Regions from separate parts of the Homo sapiens genome. Here regions 1, 3 and 4 are each linked to region 2. The links are contacts of gene promoters, found by promoter capture Hi-C in blood cells and fetal thymus (Javierre and others, 2016). All regions are on one chromosome and are shown on one strand. The core of a region is centred on a gene start or on the middle of the fragment in contact, and the rest is flanking DNA. Distances in the headings are between cores, read along the strand shown.

Region 1 (2,700 bases), core at 65-2,564, 290 kb after region 2:
GGGTGGATCCCTGCCCCACCCCCACAGCATCCCTACAGGCATATCCTACAGGCCTCGAAGGTGCCTGGCACGTGGTGAGAATGGTGCCAGCGGCTGACCCTGGCAGAGGGCCAGGACTTGTCTCCAGCACCCATGTGCGTGTTGCTTTATCCTTGCAGTGATCCCACGTGGTAGCCACTGATATTACCTTCATTTTACAGATAGGGACACTGAAGTCCAGAGAAGTTAAGTAATGTGCCTGAATTCACCAATTAGCACGTGGCTGAGCTGGGGTTTAGCCCAGGCACACTGGCTCCAGAACACGCGCCCTGAACCACTTTGCTAAACATTCGCCCTTGATGCTTGTGGCACCCCTAGCATCTGTGTTTAATGAATATTTGTTGATTAAATGGATGAGGAGCCCACCTGGGTCCTGTGTTGTCATCCCTCTCTTTCCAGGCCATGTGGGAGGAAGGGAGCAGGGGGCTGGGGTGGCAGACTGGGGCCTCCTCCAAGGAGGGGTCGGAAACTAGGTGGGGATGCCAAGAACAGCCCCCGGGCTCTGTTGAGCAGGAGCTGCAGGAGGGGGTTGGGCCCCCGCAGTGCATCTCCGATTCCTCCCCATTCCCCCACAGAGTGTCCACATCAAGAGATGGACATCGTCTTCCTGATTGACGGCTCTGGAAGCATTGACCAAAATGACTTTAACCAGATGAAGGGCTTTGTCCAAGCTGTCATGGGCCAGTTTGAGGGCACTGACACCCTGGTGAAGACTGGGCACCTGGGGCTGGGGTTTGGGGGACGGGGGAGGCTGGCCTCGGGGAGGCATCCCGGGAGGGGTGGGGGCAGGCCAGTGAGCCGTGTGTGATGGGGCTGGGGTGGAGAATGAAGCTATGGTCCCAGCACAGGCCCAACTTGAGCCCTGACCTAGGAGGCCCTCTTGGCATTTAATAATGTATCCAAAAGCTACAGGAAATACAATGTTTCTGCTGTTTAAAAACATTGAAAGTGTTTAAAAAATAATTTTGCTATGGAATTTGACTGACATATTTTCTATGTAACTAATGATTTCTTTTTATTATTTTATTTTCCCATAACTAGTGCCTATGTATGTGCAAAAAAACCCCACTGTTTTGTTTTTTAAACAGGGTCTTGTTCTGTCATCCAGGCTGCAGTGTGGGGGTGCAATCATAGCTCACTGCAGACTTGATCTCCCAGGCTCAAGTGATCCTCTTTCCTCAGCCTCCTGAGTAGATGGGACTACAGGTGCATGCCACCATGCCTGGCTAATTTTTAAAAATTTTTATTGTAGAGATGGGGTCTTGTTATATTGCCCAACCTGGTCTCCAACTCCTGGCTCAAACAACCCTCCCACCTTGGCCTCTCAAAGTGCTGGGATTACAGGCATGAGTCACTACGCCCAGCCACAAATTCTTGAGAAGGGAGGAAATACACAAATTGATTTAATGTGTGATAAAATTTTTAAAAAGCTAAGGGTAGCAAATATTGTGGTTGGCAAAGTTATTTTTAATAAACTGTGAAGGAAATATCATTTGGTTTAGATTTTCCAGTTTATATTTTGTATTTTTGGGCCAATGAATTTTCTTCTCTGGGTTTCAGTATATTATTTGTAGGGCTTCAAAACACATGGGAAATGGTTTGTAAATCCAAAATAATTCCAAAATAAAGTTTATTAAAACTGAAAACAATATGGCTTGGTGTGGTGGCTCACACCTGTAATCCCAGCACTTTGGGAGGCTGAGGTGGGAGTATTGCTTGAGGCCAAGAGTTCGAGACCAGCCTGGGCAACATAGTGAGACCTTGTCTCTACCAAAAACAAAACAAAACAAAAAACAAAGCCAGGCATGTGACGTGTGCCTGTAGTTCCAGCTACTTGGAGGCTGAGGCAGGAGGATCACTTGAGGCCAGGAGTTTGAGAGACCCTGTCTCTACAAAAAATTAAAATAAAAACAATAGTAACAGGCACTGAGCCCTGGGCCCTCCCCACTGGCCTTTGCAGTTTGCACTGATGCAGTACTCAAACCTCCTGAAGATCCACTTCACCTTCACCCAATTCCGGACCAGCCCGAGCCAGCAGAGCCTGGTGGATCCCATCGTCCAACTGAAAGGCCTGACGTTCACGGCCACGGGCATCCTGACAGTGGTGTAAGCAACCCCGACCCCAGCCTGGCGATGTGACTGCCACCCCCACTTCCTAACCCTGGGTCAGCACAGCTCTTCTCAGAGGCTGAGGGAGGCTCCAGGGAAAGGGGCTACCAAGGGGCATGTCGGGGCTGCAGGGAGAACCTCCCCCCGGGGTGCTCCTGGTTGCCTCGCTGCCAGTCTCCCTGATATAGGACTAGGCTCCTCTGCAGCTATGCCTCCCCTTTGCCTGGTTCTGCAGAGCCTGGACCCCAGGACCCCTCCCCACCCCACAGCAGCCAGAGGCCCGGGCTTTGGCTCAGACACATCAGGCTCCCATCCTGGCTCCCCGTGAGCTACTCTGGGTGTAACCCTGGGGTGATGGGCTCTAAGTCTCAGTAACTCTCAGATGAAGATAAGCTCACAGCTTAGGATTGAGATCATGTGTGTGGGGTGCTCAGCCCGGGGCACGTAGGAGGTGTCGGATAAATGCCTGAGGTTTTATCAGAGAATGGAGTAGTCAGGGACTCAGGAATTGTCACCCAAGGTCGTCCTGGTGCCTTTCTCCCCACTCACCTC
Region 2 (2,803 bases), core at 57-2,556:
GCGTGCCACCACGCCCGGCTAAATTTTGTATTTTTAGTAGAGACGGAGTTTCACGGTGTTAGCCAGGATGGTCTCGATCTCCGCCCGCCTCGGCCTCTCAAAGTGCTGAGATTACAGGCGTGAGCCACCACGCCCCGCCCAACTCGTCCTTTCTTTAGACTTTATCCTGTGAGGGTGAATTATGGCCTGTCCCTGGACACACCCGTTCTGCTTTCCCCGCACCAACTGTATCCCAAATAGGGGAAGTAGTCTCTTCAACCTTCAAAAATGGGGCACTGGCTGGGCACGGTGGCTCACGCCTGTAACCCTAGCACTTTGGGAGGCCGAGGCGGGCGGATCACCTGAGGTCAGGAGTTCGAGACCAGCCTGGCCAACAGGGTGAAGCCCTCTCTCTACTAAAAATACAAAAAATAGCCGGGCGTGGTGGCGCGCGATTGTAATCCCAGCTATTCAGGAGGCTGAGGCAGGAGAATCGCTTGAACCCGGGAGGCGGAGGCTGCAGTGAGCCGAGATCGCGTCACTGCACTCCAGCCTGGGCGACAGAGCGAGACTCCATCTCAAAAAAAAAAAAGGGGGGGGGGCGGGGAGCGACATTAGGCCAGCGCGAGTGTGCGGCTCCAGGCCACCAGGGCGGCCGCTCTGGCTCTGCCCTGTTAAAGTGGGGGCAGCGCCCGCTGAAAATTGGCACATCTTGGCTTCCGCAGGTACCAGGGCCTTTAAAAAGGTTCAGCTGGCCGGGCACGGTGGCTCACGCCTATAATCCCAGCACTTTGGGAGGTTGAGGCTGGCAGATCACGAGGTCAAGAGATCAAGACTATCCTGGACAACATGGTGAAACCCCGTCTCTACTAAAAATACAAAAATTAGATGGGCGTGGTGGCGCGCGCCTGCAGTCCCAGCTACCCGGGAGGCTGAGGCAGAGGAATCGCTTGAACCCGGAGGCGGAGGTTGCAGTGAGCCGAGATCGCGCCTCTGCACTCCAGCCTGGGCGACAGAGCATGATTCCGTCTCAAAATAAATAAATAAATAAATAAATAAATAAATTAAAAAAAGGTTGAGTTGAGTCATCGCATGAGGTAAGTCTGTCTCCTCTCCTCACCCATAGGCTGCAGCCACAGGTCCGCACGGAAAACCAGGAGCTCCAAGACTGCCGCACACTCAACATCCAACTCGCGGGGCCGCGGGGACGGCCACAGAAGCCAATCGGCTCCTGCTACATCACAGACCCCGCCCTCAAACCTTGAGGAGCCCGCCCCACGCACTGCTGACCCGGAGCCAAAAGAACTGCGTGGCGTCCGATTCTGGCGTCACTTCCCTTCCCGCGATGGCGGCACAGGGAGCTGCTGCGGCGGTTGCGGCGGGGACTTCAGGGGTCGCGGGGGAGGGCGAGCCCGGGCCCGGGGAGAATGCGGCCGCTGAGGGGACCGCCCCATCCCCGGGCCGCGTCTCTCCGCCGACCCCGGCGCGCGGCGAGCCGGAAGTCACGGTGGAGATCGGAGAAACGTACCTGTGCCGGCGACCGGATAGCACCTGGCGTGAGGGCGGGGCCCAGGGCTGGGGGCGGGGCGGAGCTCAGGGCCAGGGGGTGGGGCGGGGCCTGAGGACAGGCTGTCAGTGAGGCCAAGATCCGGGGGCTGGGAGTGGAGAGGAGGAGGGGCGGGGCTTGAGGAAAGAACGCCGCGTTCCGGGCGCTGAGAAACCAGCCGGGTTGTGGGAGGCTGTTGACCTTGAATTATGCCGAGCGACGCCTACAAACCCACCGCTCAGGCCTTCACCAGGATTGTTCCCATTCCACTTCCTTGCCCAGTCTTAGGCTTCATTCCTTTTTCTTGCTAACGCTGCTTCCTCACCCTCTCTTGTCTCTGCGTCTTCTTTTTCCATTTGTCCCTGGCAGCCATCCGCAGAGAGAAGACCTTCCAGAAACAACAGGCTTCCCTTTCCTAAAGTTCTGCTGCCTTCTCTCATTTTCAAAATTAACCCCAAACTCCTTAGGGTGGCATTCATTTTTGTGACCTCTCCAGTTTCTAGCCAACACTAGGAAAGGGCATTGCCAGGCCAGAACACACTGTGCCCTCTGAAGACCACACGCCCTTTACCACCTGTGCCCTTTGCTTGGAATGCTTTTTCTTCCCTTTCTCCTTGTTTGCCTGCCTAGCTCCTACTCATCCTCTTAGCTTCATATCCTTTGTGATGTCATCCTTGATTCCCCTTCAGGCAAAGTGAGTGGTTCCCTTCTCTATGTTCCTGCAACATTTTTTTCCTACCTCAGTCATAGTTTTTGTAACATTATGTTGTAATTTTCTCTCTCTGTCTTCCTCCATCATACTGGGAACTTCTGGAGGGCAGCACTTCTTGTGATTCATCACTGTGTCCTCTGTACCCGGCAACAACACAGCATAGGGCCAGACACGTAGTGGTTGCCTTACTCATTTATTGAATGCTCTGCTAATTGTCAGGTGCGCTGCTAAAAATTTTGGAGGCATTAATTCACCTTCTAAGGTTGGTACTATTATCCCTTTTGTCTTTTTTTTTTTTTTTTTTTTTGAGACAGGATCTCGCTCTGTCACCCAGGTGGGATTGCCGTGGCACGATGACAGCTCACTGAAGCCTAGACCTTCTAGGCTCAAGTGATCCTCCCACCTCACCCTCTCAGAGTGTTGGGATTACTGGCATGAGCCACTGTGCCCAGCTGTTATCCCTTTTCACAGATGAAGAGACTGAGGCTCAGAAAGATGGAATAACTTGCTCAGTTACACATAGCTAGGAAGTAGGGAGCTGGAATTTTGTGTATTTTTTTTTGTTT
Region 3 (2,765 bases), core at 3-2,502, 260 kb after region 2:
AATTCTCGTGCCTCAGCCTCCCAAGTAGCTGGGATTACAGGCACCTGCCACCACACCTGGCTAATTTTTGTATTTTTAGTAGAGATGGTGTTTCTCCATGTTGGCCAGGCTGGTCTTGAACTCCCGACCTCAGGTGATCTGCCTGTCTCAGCCTGTCAAAGTGCTGGGATTATAGGCGTGAGCACTGTGCCTGGTCTCTAAACTCTCTCTCTCTGTTTTTTTTTGAGAGAGAGAGAGTCTTGCTCTGTCATTCAGTGGCGTGATCTGGGCTCACTGCAACCTCTGTCCCCTGGGCTCAAACAATTCTCCTGTCTCAGCCTCCTGAGTAGCTGGGATTACAGGTGCACACCATCATGCCTGGCTAATTTTTGTATTTTTAGTAGAGACAGGGTTTCACCATGTTGGCCAGGGTGATCTCGAACTCCTGATCTCAGGTGATCCGCCCATCTCAGCATCTCAAAGTGCTGGGATTACAGGCCTGAGCCACCGCGCCTGGCCTCTAAACTCTCTTATAACCTAACTCAGCCACAGCCCTCATTCCAGGACATTCCAAGGCCCCACCGACCACCTGTCCTCTCATGCTCTAGCCAATGCCTTCTGCAGATGCCCCATGGTAGTTCACATCCACTTATGCGTCTTCTCTCTCCAGCCACGAACAATTCACCAAATACCTCAACTTCTCAGAGTCTGAGGAGAAGGAAAGCCATGTGGCCATGCACAGATACCAGGCAGGTGGTGGAGACGCAGGAGACTGGGCTGGGGTGGGAGGCTGGGAGCCGGAGACTGGGGAGGGATTTGGGCTTTGGCGTGGGCTCTGCCCTCAGTGCCCTCTGTGCAGGTCAATAACCTGGGACAGAGGGACCTGCCTGTCAGCATCAACTTCTGGGTGCCTGTGGAGCTGAACCAGGAGGCTGTGTGGATGGATGTGGAGGTCTCCCACCCCCAGGTACCCAAGGACTGCATGTGGCTCCTCCACGAATGCCCTTTCTACCTGGATTCCTTGTGCCCCATGTGGGTCCCTGATGTCCCAGCTGAGACACTTGTTCTCTGCATTTTCCCCCAGAACCCATCCCTTCGGTGCTCCTCAGAGAAAATCGCACCCCCAGCATCTGACTTCCTGGCGCACATTCAGAAGAATCCCGTGCTGGTGAGGAGGGCTCTGGGCTGGCCCTCACTGTAGGCCCCACATCAGAGGAATTTAACCCAGGAGTTCATGTTCCATATCCATCCTGCTGAAGTACCCTCTTGCATTCGGATATGGCCGCTGCCCTCAAGTCACACCGCATAATGCTGCCTCCCACCTTCACACTCATCTTTCTCAGCCCCATGCTATTTATCTGCCCCCAGGACTGCTCCATTGCTGGCTGCCTGCGGTTCCGCTGTGACGTCCCCTCCTTCAGCGTCCAGGAGGAGCTGGATTTCACCCTGAAGGGCAACCTCAGCTTTGGCTGGGTCCGCCAGGTGTGTGGGTGCAACGACAGAGCCCCTGCCCCAGACTCAGGCGGGACCTGGCATGTCTGTGCCCATCTGCAAGCCAGGGCACCCCCAGAGCTCTGAGCCTCCCCCAGAGCCAGTTCAACAGGTTTCCCCCAACCCCTTTGCAGATATTGCAGAAGAAGGTGTCGGTCGTGAGTGTGGCTGAAATTACGTTCGACACATCCGTGTACTCCCAGCTTCCAGGACAGGAGGCATTTATGAGAGCTCAGGTAGAGACCATGTGGAGGGCAGCGACCAGGCTGGAAAGAGGGCCCCTAGGGCTACATCTGTGGTGCTGGGTGGGGGGTTTGCAAGCCTTGGGGGAGGAGGGCGAAGGCCTCTGGGCAGGATAGCTGTCCCTAAGGGCACGGGTGCTGCTGTGTCTCACCTCTTGGAGCAGGGCCTGGGGAAGGAGGGGAGGGAGTTAAAGGTTGGGGAGCCTGGGAGGAGTCTGGGATAGTAGGAGGATGGGAGTGCTCTGACAGGGTCACTTCCACTTCAGACGACAACGGTGCTGGAGAAGTACAAGGTCCACAACCCCACCCCCCTCATCGTAGGCAGCTCCATTGGGGGTCTGTTGCTGCTGGCACTCATCACAGCGGTACTGTACAAAGTGAGTGTTTTATGCCACTCTTGACACCACCAGCATCTGGTCCCGCTCTTTTTGCAGAGTGAGAAGGAGCTCACTTTGAAGGCAGAGGCACATTCTTACTGGGTCACTTCATATGAGAAACTGCTTCCCACCTGCAATGTCACCTGTCCCCAGTGGCCCCCTGCTTTGTGATTCCCAGGCTTCCTCTAATATTTCTCCCTTTCTTTCCTGCTCTTCTCCATCATTCTACGTGTTTCCCTTGACAGCAGATTATCATATAAAAGCACAGACCTGGGTTTGAATGTCGACATCACCACGGGTTCTTTTTGTCTTTGACCATAGGCCAGTGTCTGCTCCACTCTGGGCCTTGATTTCTCAATGTGAAGGTGATTCTACCCCAGCTCATAGAATTTTGGCTAAATCTAGGCTGGGCACGGTGGCTCATGGCTGTAATCCCAGCAGTTTGGGAGATCGAGGCAGGTGGATCACTTGAAGTCAGGAGTTAAGAGACCAGCCTGGCCTACCTGGTGAAACCCCGTCTCTACTAAAAATACAAAAATTAGTTGGGCATGGTGGAGGTTGCAGTGAGCCGAGATCACGCCACTGCACTCCAGCCTGGGCAACAGAGTGAGACTCCATCTCAAAAAGAAAATAATTTTGGCTAAATCTAGATGACATGATGCATATAAAGTTCCTA
Region 4 (2,700 bases), core at 121-2,620, 340 kb after region 2:
CCCGGCAGAGGCCTCTTTGGCTCTGCCTGCCCCTAGAGGCTGTAAGACAGCATTGTTCAGGAAAGGGAGGAAAGGGAATGGGTGTAGGAAAGGAAGAGCGGATCTCCTTTGAAGAATTATCTTTAAAAAAAATTATTTTTTTAGAGACAGGGTCTCACTCTGTTGCCCAGGCTGGGGTGCAGTGGCACAATCCTAGCTCACTGCAGTCTCAAATTCCTGGGCTCAAGCGGTCCTCCTGCCTCAGCCTCCTGAATAGCTGGGACTACAGTGAACATCACCACACCTGGCTGGTTTTTTAATTTTTTCTAGAGATGGGGTTTGCTATGTTGCCCAGGCTAGTCTCGAACTCCTGGGCTCAAAGCATCCTCTCACCTCAGCCTCTCAAAGTGCTGGGATTATAGGTGTGAGCCACCGCCTTTTTTTTTTTTTCTGATTTACTATAATATTTCTAGTAAGCCATTGGCTTAGAAACCAGATTCACTAATTAATTCATTTACCCTTTCATGATACAAAATTTTTTAACTGAGTGAGGCCTTTCCTGAGAATTGAGCACATGAGCTTTGGTGCATGGACCTGGAAATCTCTGCTTCTTGAACTCCTAGGGGCTTCCTTTACTTCATTCACTCCTGGTGCTCAGCAAATTTCTGAATGGGGGAGGTTGGCCAGCCTGGGAGAGGTCACCCACGCCAGGAAGTCTCAGTACCTCTCTATTTATCCTATCACTTGGGAATCCTCTAGGATCTGTTTCAGGGAGTCTCTGGTTAGCCCTGAGACATAAGTGGTGCGGGTGAGACTCCTGGGGCCTATCTCAGAGGTCCTCACACCCCTGAGATTAAATCAGTCAGGAGGCAGGGTGGAGAGAGGAGTGTCCTATCAGGTCTGAGGAGGTTGTCAACTTCCTGGACTTCTTGCTAAGGACTCCTCTTCCCACCCTTCATGGGTAGCTGAGGTCAGGGAATCTGTAGGGACAAGACTTTCTTTTAAATGCTAATCTGCTGACTAACCCTGAGTCTGGGAATGCCTCCAAAATGTCAAGCTGATGTGTTTTTTTATTTTTTGGTTTTGTTTTTTTTGTTTTTTTTTTGAAACGGAGTCTCACTCTTTCATCCAAACTGGGGTGCAGTGGCACGATCTTGGCTCACTGAAACCTCCACCTCCTGGGTTCAAGCAATTTTCCTGCCTCAACCTCCCAAGTAGCTGGGATTACAGGCACGTGCCACCATGCCTGGCTAATTTTTATATTTTTGGTAGAGACAGGGTTTCACCACGTTGGGCAGCCTGGTCTCGAACTCCTGACCTCAGGTGATCTGCCCACCTCGGCCTCCCAAAGCGCTGGGAATACAGGCGTGAGCCACCGTACCAAGACATCCCACAGCACCAGCCTGTGTGTGTCTCGCCAGGCTCAGAGCTGGGAACCTGGAACCCAGGACTGGGTGAGCTCAGAGACATAACTGTGACTGTACTGGAGTCAGTCTTATGCCCAGAGCTAAGCAGAAGCAGGGCCAGCCCAGAGGAGACGATGTTACCGACTCCCACCCCGTCCTGTCTAGCGCTTAGAGTACCTCTGTACTGGCTTGCTTCCTACAGTTGCTCTGGGAGGAATGTGTGCCAGAGACCCTGACCTCTGACCCAGGCATGCAAGGGTCTGCCTTGCCTAGTTGAGCCTGTGCACTCTGTCTCTGCCTCCCTTCAGATAGGGAAAGGAGCTTCAAATTACGGGGTGATGTCATAGCACGGAGTGGAGATGGGGTGGCAGGGAGACAGGGAGGCTCAGGGAAGGAGGCCAGGTATTTCACAGAGGAGTTCTGGGGGAGAAGAAGGAAAACGGCAGAGAAGGGAACAGGAAGGGGTGAAGGAAAGGGGAAAAGTGCCTTCACTGCATGGAAAGGTCCTTCTCACCCACAGTGGGGTGGGATGGAGACTGTAACCTCAAGTACTTTTCTGCAGGGGACAGGCAAGTAACACATATGAAACGTGCTGAGTCAGGGATGCAAGAGGGAGTGTCCCTGTTCCTATGTCCAGGACAGCCACTACTCAACGAACTGCTGCCATAAAAATCCAATGTTGCAGCATCTTCTGATATAAATAATAAAGCAGGCCGGGTGTGGTGACTGACGCCTGTAATCCTACCACTTTCGGAAGCCGAGGTGGGTGGGGGAGGGAAGGGCCGGGGCAGGGGATCTTTTCTTTTTTTTTTTGAAACGGAGTCTTGCTCTGTCACCCAGGCTGGATTGCAGTGACAGGATCTCCGCCCACTGCAAGCTCTGCCTCCTGGGTTCATGCCATTCTCTTGCCTCAGCCTCTTGAGTAGCTGGAACTATAGGCGCCTGCCACCATTTCCAGCTAATTTTTTGTATTTTTAGTAGAGACAGGATTTCACCTTGTTAGCCAGGAAGGTCTCGATCTCCTGACCTCGTGATCCGCCCACCTAGGCCTCCCAAAGTGCTGGGATTACAGGCGTGAGCCACCGTGCCCGGCCAGGAGGGGATCATTTGAGCCTAGGAGTTCAAGACCAGTCTGCAACCTGGCAAGATCCTGTCTCAATTAAAAAAAAAAAAAAACAAAAAAAACAACAACAAACCAAGCCCCAGAAATCGACTGTGATGTGAAATCTCCTTATTTAAATGTTGGCTCTTTAAAAAAATAAAAAGACCAGGTTAGGTGGCTCACATCTGTAATCCCAGCATTTTGGGAGGCTGA

The links. Contacts are between HindIII fragments. The CHiCAGO score rates a contact against its expected background, and 5 or more counts as called.
Region 1: a fragment that was not itself captured here is called in contact with the fragment with the promoter of KAT8 in region 2 in 1 of 17 cell types (monocytes); the score reaches 6.8 in monocytes.
Region 3: a contact is called between a fragment that was not itself captured here and the fragment with the promoter of KAT8 in region 2, in 3 of 17 cell types (naive CD8 T cells, monocytes and neutrophils). The highest score is 6.9, in naive CD8 T cells.
Region 4: a fragment that was not itself captured here is called in contact with the fragment with the promoter of KAT8 in region 2 in 6 of 17 cell types (M0 macrophages, naive CD4 T cells, monocytes and 3 more); the score reaches 6.8 in M0 macrophages.

The regions. Positions count from the first base shown.
Region 1 is chr16:31,401,501-31,404,200 of GRCh38, forward strand. ITGAD (integrin subunit alpha D) reads left to right here. Exons shown (of 30, transcript NM_005353.3): 6 at 615-745; 7 at 2,000-2,145. Among named protein-coding and RNA genes, the nearest start is that of ITGAD, 9.5 kb to the left of the region's middle. The HindIII fragment of the contact is 7,259 bases long and covers 1-2,700 here.
Region 2 is chr16:31,116,358-31,119,160 of GRCh38, forward strand. It overlaps KAT8 (lysine acetyltransferase 8), which reads left to right and starts at 1,307. Exons shown (of 11, transcript NM_032188.3): 1 at 1,307-1,535. The coding sequence starts at 1,325. It also overlaps a transcript of BCKDK not described here. RefSeq lists silencers at 1,125-1,351, 1,251-1,600 and an enhancer at 1,771-1,890. The HindIII fragment of the contact is 10,033 bases long and covers 1-2,803 here.
Region 3 is chr16:31,378,919-31,381,683 of GRCh38, forward strand. It overlaps ITGAX (integrin subunit alpha X), which reads left to right. Exons shown (of 30, transcript NM_000887.5): 24 at 650-728; 25 at 839-946; 26 at 1,064-1,147; 27 at 1,348-1,461; 28 at 1,605-1,706; 29 at 1,979-2,089. Among named protein-coding and RNA genes, the nearest start is that of ITGAD, 13 kb to the right of the region's middle. The HindIII fragment of the contact is 6,995 bases long and covers 1-2,765 here.
Region 4 is chr16:31,451,929-31,454,628 of GRCh38, forward strand. No RefSeq gene overlaps it. Among named protein-coding and RNA genes, the nearest start is that of ARMC5, 6.2 kb to the right of the region's middle. RefSeq lists enhancers at 1-174, 755-1,527, 1,528-2,299. The HindIII fragment of the contact is 3,667 bases long and covers 1-2,700 here.